Linked DNA regions of Homo sapiens: region 1 is linked to region 2. Evidence: promoter capture Hi-C in 16 types of primary human blood cells and fetal thymus (Javierre and others, 2016). All regions are on one chromosome and are shown on one strand. The core of a region is centred on a gene start or on the middle of the fragment in contact, and the rest is flanking DNA. Distances in the headings are between cores, read along the strand shown.

The links. The method cuts DNA at HindIII sites, captures the fragments that hold promoters and counts their contacts. A CHiCAGO score of 5 or more calls a contact.
Region 1: a contact is called between a fragment that was not itself captured here and the fragment with the promoter of HTR2A-AS1 in region 2, in 2 of 17 cell types (non-activated CD4 T cells and total CD8 T cells). The highest score is 6.5, in non-activated CD4 T cells.

The regions. Positions count from the first base shown.
Region 1 is chr13:46,479,659-46,485,351 of GRCh38, forward strand. No RefSeq gene overlaps it. Among named protein-coding and RNA genes, the nearest start is that of LINC01198, 16 kb to the left of the region's middle. The HindIII fragment of the contact is 198 bases long and covers 2,012-2,209 here.
Region 2 is chr13:46,850,405-46,856,096 of GRCh38, forward strand. It overlaps HTR2A-AS1 (HTR2A antisense RNA 1), which reads left to right and starts at 1,736. Exons shown (of 2, transcript NR_103752.1): 1 at 1,736-1,822; 2 at 5,686-5,692. The region is part of intron 3 of HTR2A (5-hydroxytryptamine receptor 2A); the gene reads right to left. RefSeq lists an enhancer at 4,831-4,950. The HindIII fragment of the contact is 4,589 bases long and covers 1-2,164 here.

The sequences.
Region 1 (5,693 bases), core at 861-3,360, 370 kb before region 2:
AGTACTATCAAGAAAAATATAGAATGGCTTGGGGAGGGGGCAGTACTCAAGAATGATAAGTGTTTTTCTGGAGAAGGAGCAAGCAGGAAGAGCATTAGATGAGATGTTATGGGCAGCCTGAAGAGAGTTCCAAGTGCAGAAAAGAAGCAGAGATGAGGCCTGCAATTAGGATGTAGCTGTTCAACACAGCCCAGGGCCAGGAATCCAGCCACCTGGGAAGACTGAAACTACTGTGGCATTCCTGGCCCAGCGGCTGAGATACCTGACCTGTTATCAAAGCAGGGTCCAGGCTTGGCAGAACCCACCAGAGAACATGATTCCAGTAGAGCAAACCTGGGGCTTGGTCCTAGGAACATGTCAGAAGTCAGAGCCAGGCCACAGAGCCAGAATATTCTCCACTTAAGACATGATTACATTTCCTAAGCTAATTGCTTTTTCTCCAAAGAAGCCTCAGATCTCCGGTTTAGAGCTTTCGCCATGATGTACAACGTTATGCTTAAAACACATCAAAACATCCTCCTTGCTGGGGAATGCTACTGGATTCTCTCATCTTGGCTTAGCATGCTACCATATTCCAATTATCCTGAGGCTCTTTGGAGACAGAGACGGGCAGGATGGGGAAAAGCTCTTCAGCCTCCAGGCTAAGTTTGAAACATACTCTCTTTGTCAGCAGTCTTACTTTTAGATTCACCCGATAAGATCCTCTAGGATACTGACTACAAAAAGCCACAGAATCAAGCAAGATAAGGCTGGTGGTCTCTCACAGCTTACCTCACAAACTGCTCTTCTACATATTTAAAAGTAGCCCTTGGCTATTTACGTCTGCATCCTGGGGATGGCTGCTTAGCCCAATACTGCAGCTAGTTCTGGTCCTTAGTCTTCAAAAGCTAAAAGCAGTTCAGAAAAGGGGCAAAGAGGATGATTCCAAGTTCATGAACAGGACTACTCCATGAGACACAGGGAGAAAATCCTCCCTATTTCTCCCTCCATGCCACCCTGCAGAGTTCCTTGATCACATCCCTGGCAAGCTCACCACTAACCCAGATGGCTCGACAGTCTTCCTGGCCTACCTCACAGCTTTGTTGAGAGGTCAAAGGAGGAAGCTGTAAAGCATTAAGGAAATTTAAGAACCCATTATTATTATTTTACAGTATGATATGGTTTGGCTGTGTCCCCACCCAAATCTCATCCTGAATTGTAGCTTCCACAATTCCCACGTGTCATGGGAGGAAACTGGTGGGAGATAATTGAATCATGGGGGTGAGTCTTTCCTGTGCTGTTCTCGTGATATTGAGTAAGTCTCACAATATCTGATGGTTTTATAAAGGGGAGTTCCCTGCACATGCCTTCGTGCCTGTCACCATGCAAGATGTGACTTTACTCCTCCTTTGCCTCCCGCCATGATTGTGAGGCCTCCCCAGCCATGTGGAACTGTGAGCCCATTAAATCTCTTTTCTTTATAAATTACCCAGTCTCGGGTATGTCTTTATTAGCAGTGTGAGAACAGACTAATACACAGTAGTATCACTTTGAAACCTACTATAGTCCCAGAAGTTCAATAGTTAGGAAAAATAAGTTGCTTAAGTTTAAAAGAACATGCAGCAGTGTGGTCGTAGATGAACCTCCAGAGGAAAAAGGCCTGAAAAAGGCTGTACTTGCCAAGATCTGTGATGCAAATACTCCCACTGCAACTGATCACGTTGATGTCAAGCCATCAACATGATATCACAGAATTGGAAAGAGATGAGCACGGTCCACCCTGGCAAGCCAGTGCATGCTGGCTCCAACACACTCAGGGGCCATGCTAAGGACTGGGGGCTCGGAAGTAAATAAAACACAGCTTATGGCTTCAGATTAATGCATGGGCTAGTCAAGGAGATGGACAACAAAGTAAAGAACCATGATAATAAATTCTGTAACAAAATTATGTACTGATAGCAGATGCATGTGTGTGTTCTCCCAGTGGAATCTGGAACCCAAAAGGAAACAAAGCTTTAGACCAACAAAATGAAGCTTTGATAGTGGAATGGCAGACATCGGCTAACAGTCAAGGAGGGTTACTGGAAATTCCATCTCTAATAGATAGCTGCCAACTTGTTTATGAAGGCTGGCTCTAGATAAAATAGGCACTGTAACAGAGAATGTTCAATGATCTCAGCTACGCTACTGATAAGCATGAGAAGAGTTGAGTCAGAGACAGGGTAATTAAAGCTTATGCTTCCATGGGCTAGAGAGAACCTGCATCCATTCTCCTAACATCTGTCTACTTATTCCTGCTGCTGCCATGTCCATACATTGGCCGGATAGAGCAATTGGGTCAGAGAGGGGCAGGAAAGGCATGGGAGAAGGTTAGGAACCAAGGGGAAGAAGAGGTAGATGCCATCAACACCTCCTTATCTTCCTGCTCTTTTGAAGTCCATGAAATCTACTCATCCCATACCCTTCTCCTAGGCAACCCTATTGTCTGTCAAGGTTCAAGACTCAGTCACACCTTCTTCAGATATTTCAGCATCACAGTCTTTCTCCCACAGCTGCTCTTTCTAGATCTCACATTACGCTGTTTCTCTCTCCGTTTCTGGCTCTTTACATGCAGAGGCTTCTTCAACGTTCAGTCATTCTTGCTTCTTTTGTTGTTCCATAGTTTCTCTTTAATATTGACATCCACTTCCTTATTTCTCTTCCCTATGCAGACCACATCCCTGCTTGCTTATCAAGACCTTACCTTTCTCCTGAGCACCAGCCTCATATTTCAATCAGCTGGTGCACAATTCATTTACAGAGACCTCTGGAATTAATTCAGACAGCACATCCTCTGAGACCTCATCTTCCTCTTCAAGTTTCCATTGCTATTTTATTTATTTAGCAAAAGTGTATTTTAAAAACTGATTCATATCAGTTGTACATATTTTTGGGGTACATGTGATAATTTGTAATGTGTACAAATATGTACAATGTGTAATTATCAAATAGGGTAACTGAGATATTCATCACCAGGGCATGGTGGCATGTGCCTGTAGTCCCAACTGCTTGGAAGGCTAAGGTGGAAGGATCACCCGAGTCTGGAAGGTCGAGGCTGCAGTGAGCTGTGATTGTGCCACTGCACTCTGGTCTGGATGATACAGTGAGATCCTATCTTAAATACATACATACATATAGTGTATATTATTCTGTTTCCTTGTACCAGCAAACAGCTTTGGGAGGAAAAAAGTCCTTTATAATTGGGAGATAATGAAATGCTTTTAGAATGGGGACAGAACTAGAGCCACCCTTAAGGTTAAATGGACTCAGGAACAGAAACAAAGACTCTCACAGCTGCTTCCTATGGCTGCCAGCCTCTATGTGTGTGTGATTGTGTGTGTGTGTGTGTGTGTGTGTGTGTTTGTAGGTTTTTATCCACAATTCCTATCTCATAACTTCCACGGACAGAATTTTGTTATAATGTTGGGGCACTGTAGGCCAGGCATTGGAAGTAGGAATTGGAAAACAGAATCTCTCTCTCTCTCTCTCTAACATTCTCCTGTCCTCCTTTGACCTGCCCAAGGCAGGACCCTAGTCTGGTTGTGGGCCCTAAGAGCCTCATTTGCGAGAGTGTCCTGCCCCATACCCTAAAGGAAAAAAGTGCTGCACAGAGAGGACAGAACGACGTGAACAGACAGGCCTTTCTGGGTTTCCCCAATCAGTCTATTAGTATTGAATCATACCTGTTTTGTCCAATCACATTTTGACATGGATGTCCATGTTTCAATCATGCCTATCCAACAAAGTCTCCATAAAAGGCTCAAGAGGACTGGGTTTGGGGGCCTTCCAGAGAGCTGAACACATGGAGGCTGACAGGAAGGTAAACAAGAATTCATTCATGTGCTGTAAGGATGGCACACCTCAACTCCATGGATCAGAAGCTCCTGCACTCCAGACCTTTTCAGACCTTGTCCTATGCATCTCTTCATCTGGCTATTTATTTGTATTCTTTAAAATATCCTTTGTAATAAACTGGTAAACATAAGTAGGTGTATGGCTGAGATATGTGAGCCACTCTAGTAAATTAGTCAAATCCAAAGACAGGGTCATGGGAACTCCAACTTGAAGCTGGTCAGTTAGAATTTTCAGAGTCCTGAACCTGCTACTGGTGTCTGAAGGCTGGAGGTTGTCTTGGGGAATGAGCCCTCAACCTGTGGGATCTGACATTATCACTAGGTAGATAGTGTCGGAATTAAATTGGAGAACACTCAGCTGGTGTTCACTGCAGAATTAATTGCTTGCTTCCTGGCGGGGAGAAATCCCCACATATTTTGGGGTCACGGAAGACTCCTGTATTGATTGTTGTTGTATTATTGAGTGAGAAAATAGGAAAAAGCACATTAATTATTTTTTTCCACATTCAGAAGTCTTTAATTCATTTAGGTTGATTTTTGTATATGATGAAAGATGGGGATCTTGCTTCACTCTTTTGCTTATGGATATTGAATTTTCCCAGCATCATTTATTAAAGAGACTGTCCTTTCCCCAGTGTATGTTCTTGACACCTTTGTCAAAAATGAGTTGGCTGTGTGTGGATTTATGGGTTTCTATTTATAACTTTCTCCAGGTTTAGAAAGTTTTCTGTTATCAGGCCAGGTACAGTGGCTCATGCCTGTAATCCCAGCACTTTGAGAGGCCAAGGTGGGAAGATCATCTGAGGTCAGAAGCTCAAGACCAGCCTGGCCAACATGGCAAAACCCCATTTCTACTAAAACATACAAAAAGTAGCCAGGTGTGGTGGCAGGCACCTGTAATCCCAGCTACTCTGGAGGCTGAAGCAGGGAGAATTGCTCGAACCCGGGAGGCAAAGGTTGCAACCTGGGTGACAGAGCAAGACTCCATCTCAAAAAAAAAAAAGTTTTCCGTTATCATTTCTTTGAATAAGATTTTGACTCCTTTGTCTTTCTCAGTTCCTTCTTTAACACCAATAACCCAAATATTTGTTCTTTTGATGTTGTCCCGAAGATTCCATGAGCTAGCTTCCTTCCTTTTCATTCATTTTCGTTTTTCTCCTGCATATTTTATAACGGTCTCTTTGATCTGATTCTTTATTCTGTTTGATCAGTTCTGCTGTTGATGCTCTCTATTGCATTTTTCATTTCATTCATTGTATTTTTCAGTTCTAAGGTTTATGTTTAATTTTTTTAAGTATTTCAATCTCTGTTAAATTTGTCTGATAAATTTCTGAATTGACTCTGTGTTTGCTTGAAGTTTATTGAGCTTCCTTAAAACAGCTATTTTGAATTATTTACCTCATCACACATCTCCATCACTTTAGGGTTGGTCACTGGCAACTTTATTTTGTCCATTTGGTGAGGTCATATTTCCCTAAATGTTCTTGTTTTTTGTGGATGCGTGACAACGTCTGTGCTTTGAGGGATTAGGTATTTATTTTAGTCTTTGCAGTCTGGCTTTGTTTGTGGCTGTCCTTCTGCTGAGGGCTTTCCTAAAATTCTAAGCTGACTGCTGAGTTCCTTCAGCCTGTGACCACTGAAGCCATCTCAGCACTGGAGGGTGCTCTAAATCCAGGCTTGCAGAGGATCTCACAAGGACTCTGAGGTTGACATCGCTTTCTGGCCCAGATGGACTTGCAGAACACCCAAGGAGTATACTGGGGCTGTGTGGGGATGCTGGCTCACAACCTGAATCAGCTCAGCTAGCTAGGAGGAATAAGT
Region 2 (5,692 bases), core at 486-2,985:
AGTGGAAGCACAGAGAAGTTAGGCAAGTTGCCAAATGTCACACAGTAAGTGCTGAAACTAGAATTTTGAGCCACAGCCTGGCTCTGTAGTCTGTATTTTTCTATGCTCTGTAGCCTCAGCACACTTTCGCCATCAGGTATGCAGGCTTGGGGATCAAACTTCCTCACTTCAGAAAAGTTGCTGCTTGAAGAGTTGCTGCTTCATTGCTGCTCAAGGCTGGCTCTTAGATCCGGAGCCTGGAATTCATGCAGTGTCCTACCTATGAAATCTTTCTGTGGGGACAGGCCTCCTTTTATCTGTGCTTGTGTTGCAGGGGCTATACGTTTCTCATTTAGAGCCATTTACATGCTATCTATGGGAAGACTGGCTATAGAAACCATCTTTTAAGAACTTAATGCTAAGGACCAGTTATGTTTTACTGCAAGTCTTTAATGCACAATGCCAAGATCAACATTTTTTGAAATTACAATTTTCTCTGCTATTTCTTACAATGCTTATTTTCTTTCCATGGTTCCCAGCTAATTGGTGTCCCGTACCTGTGCTGATGTTGAATGTTTTTCCTCCAAATTAACCTATAGATGATTTCTGGGGTGGGGGTGAGGATGGGGCAGAAACCCTTTGAAAAGGAGTGCAAAAGTTCATGTTCATGTGACTACGTACATTTTTCAGGAAAGAGGTAATTATCCCAATACTCTGCAACACAAAAAAGATTCTGAATCACTGAGCCTGGGTGTACAAACACTATGTCTTGTGTGTATGTGTCTGTGTATATGTGTGTTTCCTAGTAAAACCAGTTTCATATCTTCATAGTTCTATTTCTTCTGGATAGTACTTTTCTAGAGAATATGGCAGTAATTTCTAATTTTAAAAGACATAAGAAACAAAAGTCACAGTAAAAATCTAATCAGCCAAATAGTTTATAAGAAAATGCAGGAAAAAGATAAAGAATGAGCTCCTTGATACATTGTATATTCTGGTTCAAACATAGTACATGCACAGATACATACAGCACAAAACACACTAACTTTAATATCCTGTGGAGAAGTTAATTTGCTGGATTACACATATGCATGTTAAATGGGAGCATTTATTAGAATAAGTCAGACCAAAAGAACACTTTCGCACGGAATATTTATATAATGGAAACAGGGATTTCTGAAAAATTGCTTCAGTTTTCCAGGTGGCTTTACAAGGGCAGGATGGATGTAGAGTAACTGGGAGAGAGACTCTCCTTTTAGCAACATTCTGGGCATGAAAGGCAGTTGTGGATCCAGCCAAATAAGCTGCAAACTTCCCGATGATATATTCACCGCTTTTCTACATTTTGTGATAGTAATAAGGAAGGTGTTAGCTCTAGCCTGCTAAATGTTTGAATCTGATGCATTTTGTAATCAGCAGAATAATGGTCCCCAAAGATGCCTACGCCTAACTCCTGGATGCTGTGAATATGTTGTGTTATATGGCAAGGATAAACTAAAGTTGCAGATGGGAATTAAAGATGTCAATCAGCTGAGCTGGAAATAATTAGAGTGCCCTGGATTATCCAGGTGGGCCCAATGTAATCACAGATTTCCTTAAAAGTGGAAGAGGGAGGAAGGTGTGTTGGGTCAAAGTGATTCAATAAGAGCAGGATTCAATCTGTACTGGCTACCTTGGAAGATAACAGGAAAAGGACCGTGGGCCAAGGAGTGTAGGTGGTTTCTAGAAGCTGGAGGGGCCAGTGACATATTTTTTCCCTAGTGCCTCCAGAAAGAACGCAGCCCTACTGACACCTTGGTTTTGGCCTGGTGAGACCAACTTTGGACTTTTCACTTCCAAAACTGTAAGTAATAAATTTGTGTTGTTTTAAGCCAACAGCAGAGGTGTCATTTCAGTTTGTAGTCATTGCTACAGCAGCACTAAGGAGCTGGCACACATTGCCGGGACTCGCTCTGGCGCTTGGGCGGCACTGTAGGTGTCCACGTTCTTGGAGGTAGTCAGCAAAGGGGGGCTCTCTCGGCTGGGCTGGCCACGTCTGCTTACACAGAGTGCTACCCTCTTCCCACTGCGGTAACAGCCTTGCCTTAGCCCCTGTGTGTTTGGAGTGGCATTCGCTACAAAAGTTCTTTGTCAAAGGGACAAACGATGAGCTATGATGCCATTCAGACTGATGTGTTAACTTCTAAGCTTTCCTATGATTAAGATAATTGTTCTATGATATGAGGAGCGGCATTGCATGCAGTATATTTCTTTATGTGCTGTTAAAATGCAGTTCACGGCTGTAGACAGGTGGGGTGAAATTAGCACCAGACTGGGAGACAGAAGCCCTGATTTCTTTCCTTGGCCTGTCCACATACAAGCTATGGGTGTAATGAACTTTTGTTTTCCCATAAACATTTTAAAATCACTTAGTCATGCTCCTCAAAAAATTTTAACTTTTGGATTAAAACTGTTGAAACTGTAGATAATCTGGTGGAAAATGAACACCTTAGTTCTACAGTTAACAAAGGTAAGTTATCTCAATAATTTGAACATGTTATATTTTTATCTACTTAGGTCTTGTCTGTCCTATAATAGTTCTAGGGCTTTTTTTTTTCCTATAAAGTTCCTGGTAATTCTTATCTGATTTTTCTTTTTCTCCTTAATATAGTGCATTATTCTGAATTGTTAGGTAAAAGTTGGTCTGCTTGTTGTCAGTATCTTATAGAGTTTGTGCTTCTCATATGCCTAGAAATTTTTTCTTGTGACTTTATATCCCCTTCAGGGGATATAAGATGCCGTGATTAATATCGTACACCAGGAGAAGGGGTTACAGCCTGTGCGCCTCCTGGTGATCTTGATTAGGAAGAAGGGGAAGGTGGACCTTAGGGCAGATGGCCTCTAGCATTGAAATGTGGGCTCCCAGATCCTCCATCTGTCCACATCTTGCTGGACACCTCCATACTCATCTGCCTGGGCCACTTCTCTGACTCCCAATCCCCTAACCCTTGGGCTGGGAGGAGAAAGAGCTCAGAAGCCAGCAGGTTGCTCTCTTCCCTTGCTGTGTGCTCTCAGTGGTTGTTGGCAGCACACTGGAATCACCTGGCAGCCTTAAATACTGATAGTGAATTGAATCCATAGAGATTCTGATTTTGTGCATTCCAGGTGAGGCCAAGTGTATCAGGCTGTTTTAAACCTCCCCAGATGATTCTAATGTGCTGCTAAGGTTGAGATCCCCAGTCCCAGCCCTCTCCTGAAGCCACCCCACTGGCTGGAGAAGATACTGGGCTGACATTGCTTTTTCTCTGCCCTGCCATGGTCACTGGGTGGGCAGGCAGGCCCCTGTCCAGGGTAGCGTGGACACTCTTCCAAGGCAGCATCTACGACTCTCAGCTGTCACTCTCAGCTCTCCTCCATCTAAAACATCTTAGTTTTACAGTTGTGCTTTTCATATGCCTAGAAATTTCTGGGCTACATTTCTTTCCCATATATGGACTTCATGACCGTCTATTTTCCCAGAGGTTTTTTGCAGTTTTTATGCTAGTTTTTGATTCACCAATCTTTTCCTTCTGTTAGGTTTAAAGAAAAAAGTCTACAGTTCCAGTTAGTCTACTTTTGTAACAGGACCTGACAACTCCACTCTACTTCCAATCCTGAAAGACTACAGGAAAAACTAGCCCAAGTGACTGAGCTGGGGGGTCCCAGTCATCGGTAGCATGGGTATTTTGCTTTGGAATATTATCAAATAGCAGGGGGACCAGCACAGTGGACTTAGTGTCAAGTCTAGGATTTGATTCTTAGCTAACAAAACAAGTTTCCTCTCTGAGTTGTGACGATTAAATGCAATAAAATGGAAAAGTGCCCAGCAGTGATGGGCTTTCAGGAGATGCCATAGACATTAGCTGAATTTGAACATTTTCAACTTGAATGGGACAGAAACATTAACTGGAGTTGACAGGAGGATCAGCGATGTATCTAATAAGCAGCATTACAAATAGCACAAGCTTAGGTGTTCCTCAGCTACCACACCTTAGTGCTTGCTCCTCTGTTAGGATTATCTATTAGACTTTGCTATTTACTTTTATTAGATTTTTATATTACAAGAGGGGCACATAATAGAGCTCATGCAATTTGGTTCATTTCAGACTTGGGCCAGCTTTAGGTGAAAGCTGCTGGAACTAATTTTTATAGCCAGGACTTCAAATAGTGACTTTGAGCCTATATCAGAACAAAATATCATTATCCCCAGCCCTGGCTCTGACATCAGTTCTTTTGAGGCTGAAAGTTGCCCTGGGGTTGTAAGATCTTACACGACCAATAACAGAAGTCAGCAGAGACTCCTAGGCACAGAGATGTGATACCATAATTAATATTTTGATAGCATTCCAAACAGCAACAGAATAATGCCTTTGGCCAGGAAATCACAGATCCCTACCCACCCTGTTATGGTGGAACTGTGTCCCCTCAAATGATCCCCAGTAGCTGTGAATGTGATCTTATTTGGAAATAGATTCTTTTGTAGATGATCAAGTTAAGGTTAAGTAAGGTCATTAGGGTGGGCCCTAATCCACTACGACTGAACTTATAAAAAGAGAAAAAATTTGGACGTGGACATGTGTACGCTGAGATAACATTATGTGAAGATGAAGGCAGAGATTGGGAGACGGAACTATAAGTCAGGGAACACCAAATTGACTAATGTCCCCCCAGAGCTAAGAAGAGGCCATGGAACAGCCTCTCCTTCACAGGTCAGAAGGAACCAATCCTGCCAATACCTTGATTCCCAGAATTCTGACCTCCGGAACTGTGACACAAGAAATCTGTCAGTTTAAGCCAATAAGTTTGAGGTTCTTTGTTACAGTAGCCCTAGGAAACCAGTACACCCCCTTTTCTCTCACTCTGCCTTCCAGGAGAAGTGATACTATAGATTGCTCAAACTCAAGGGAACTCCTTCAGTTTTTCGGTTGAAACATGTGAAAAGGCTGATATGTAACCACTATGACCTTCAGAAGGGGCAGTTTCACAGGATGTAGTCAAATATATTTTCTGGTGGGTGGAGCTTTGTGTGAGACATAAATCAATCTCACTGGGTAGCTGTCTCAATTTCCACTTTCCCAGTTCAGTGTGGGTGGATGGGGAAGGTGCTCTCAACTGGGGGGGTACACAGGCTGCTTTTCTCATTGGCTTTCCCTTATGCTTCCGGGACATTCTTCATTCTGTGTGGCCAGGGAACATGTAAACTGGAGACAGAACCCAAAAGCTTTCCCTCCCTAAAAAAGGCCTAAGGTGGGATGGCCAGCAGGGCAGGTGAGGACCTTGCTACAAAAATTTTAGGACCGAGAAAAGTAAGTACTGCTCCCCCAAAAATTCAATCTCAAAATTAATATTTAACTTAAATATCTAAAATATAACATGTCCACTAGCCAGATCAGCTGATAGTAGGGCATATAAAGTTATGTTTAATGTGGTGTATTGTGTATAACATATGATGTGGGTGGGGTCCGCAAAAGTAAGGGTGCCAAAGGTCTGAAACAGCTCTGGGCGTTGGAGCAAATGGTCTTTCTCCTCTGGCTACTATTGTCTTGTACTTACACCTTCTTCCTGACTGCTGTGTTCTTTGACATTCCAAAATAGTAAGATTAGAGACCTAGTGTGGGTTTGGGACAGAACAGGTAGAATAAAGCAATCCCTTACCCTGCTTCATCCCTGGTTATATGTTGATCTTAGAAAACGA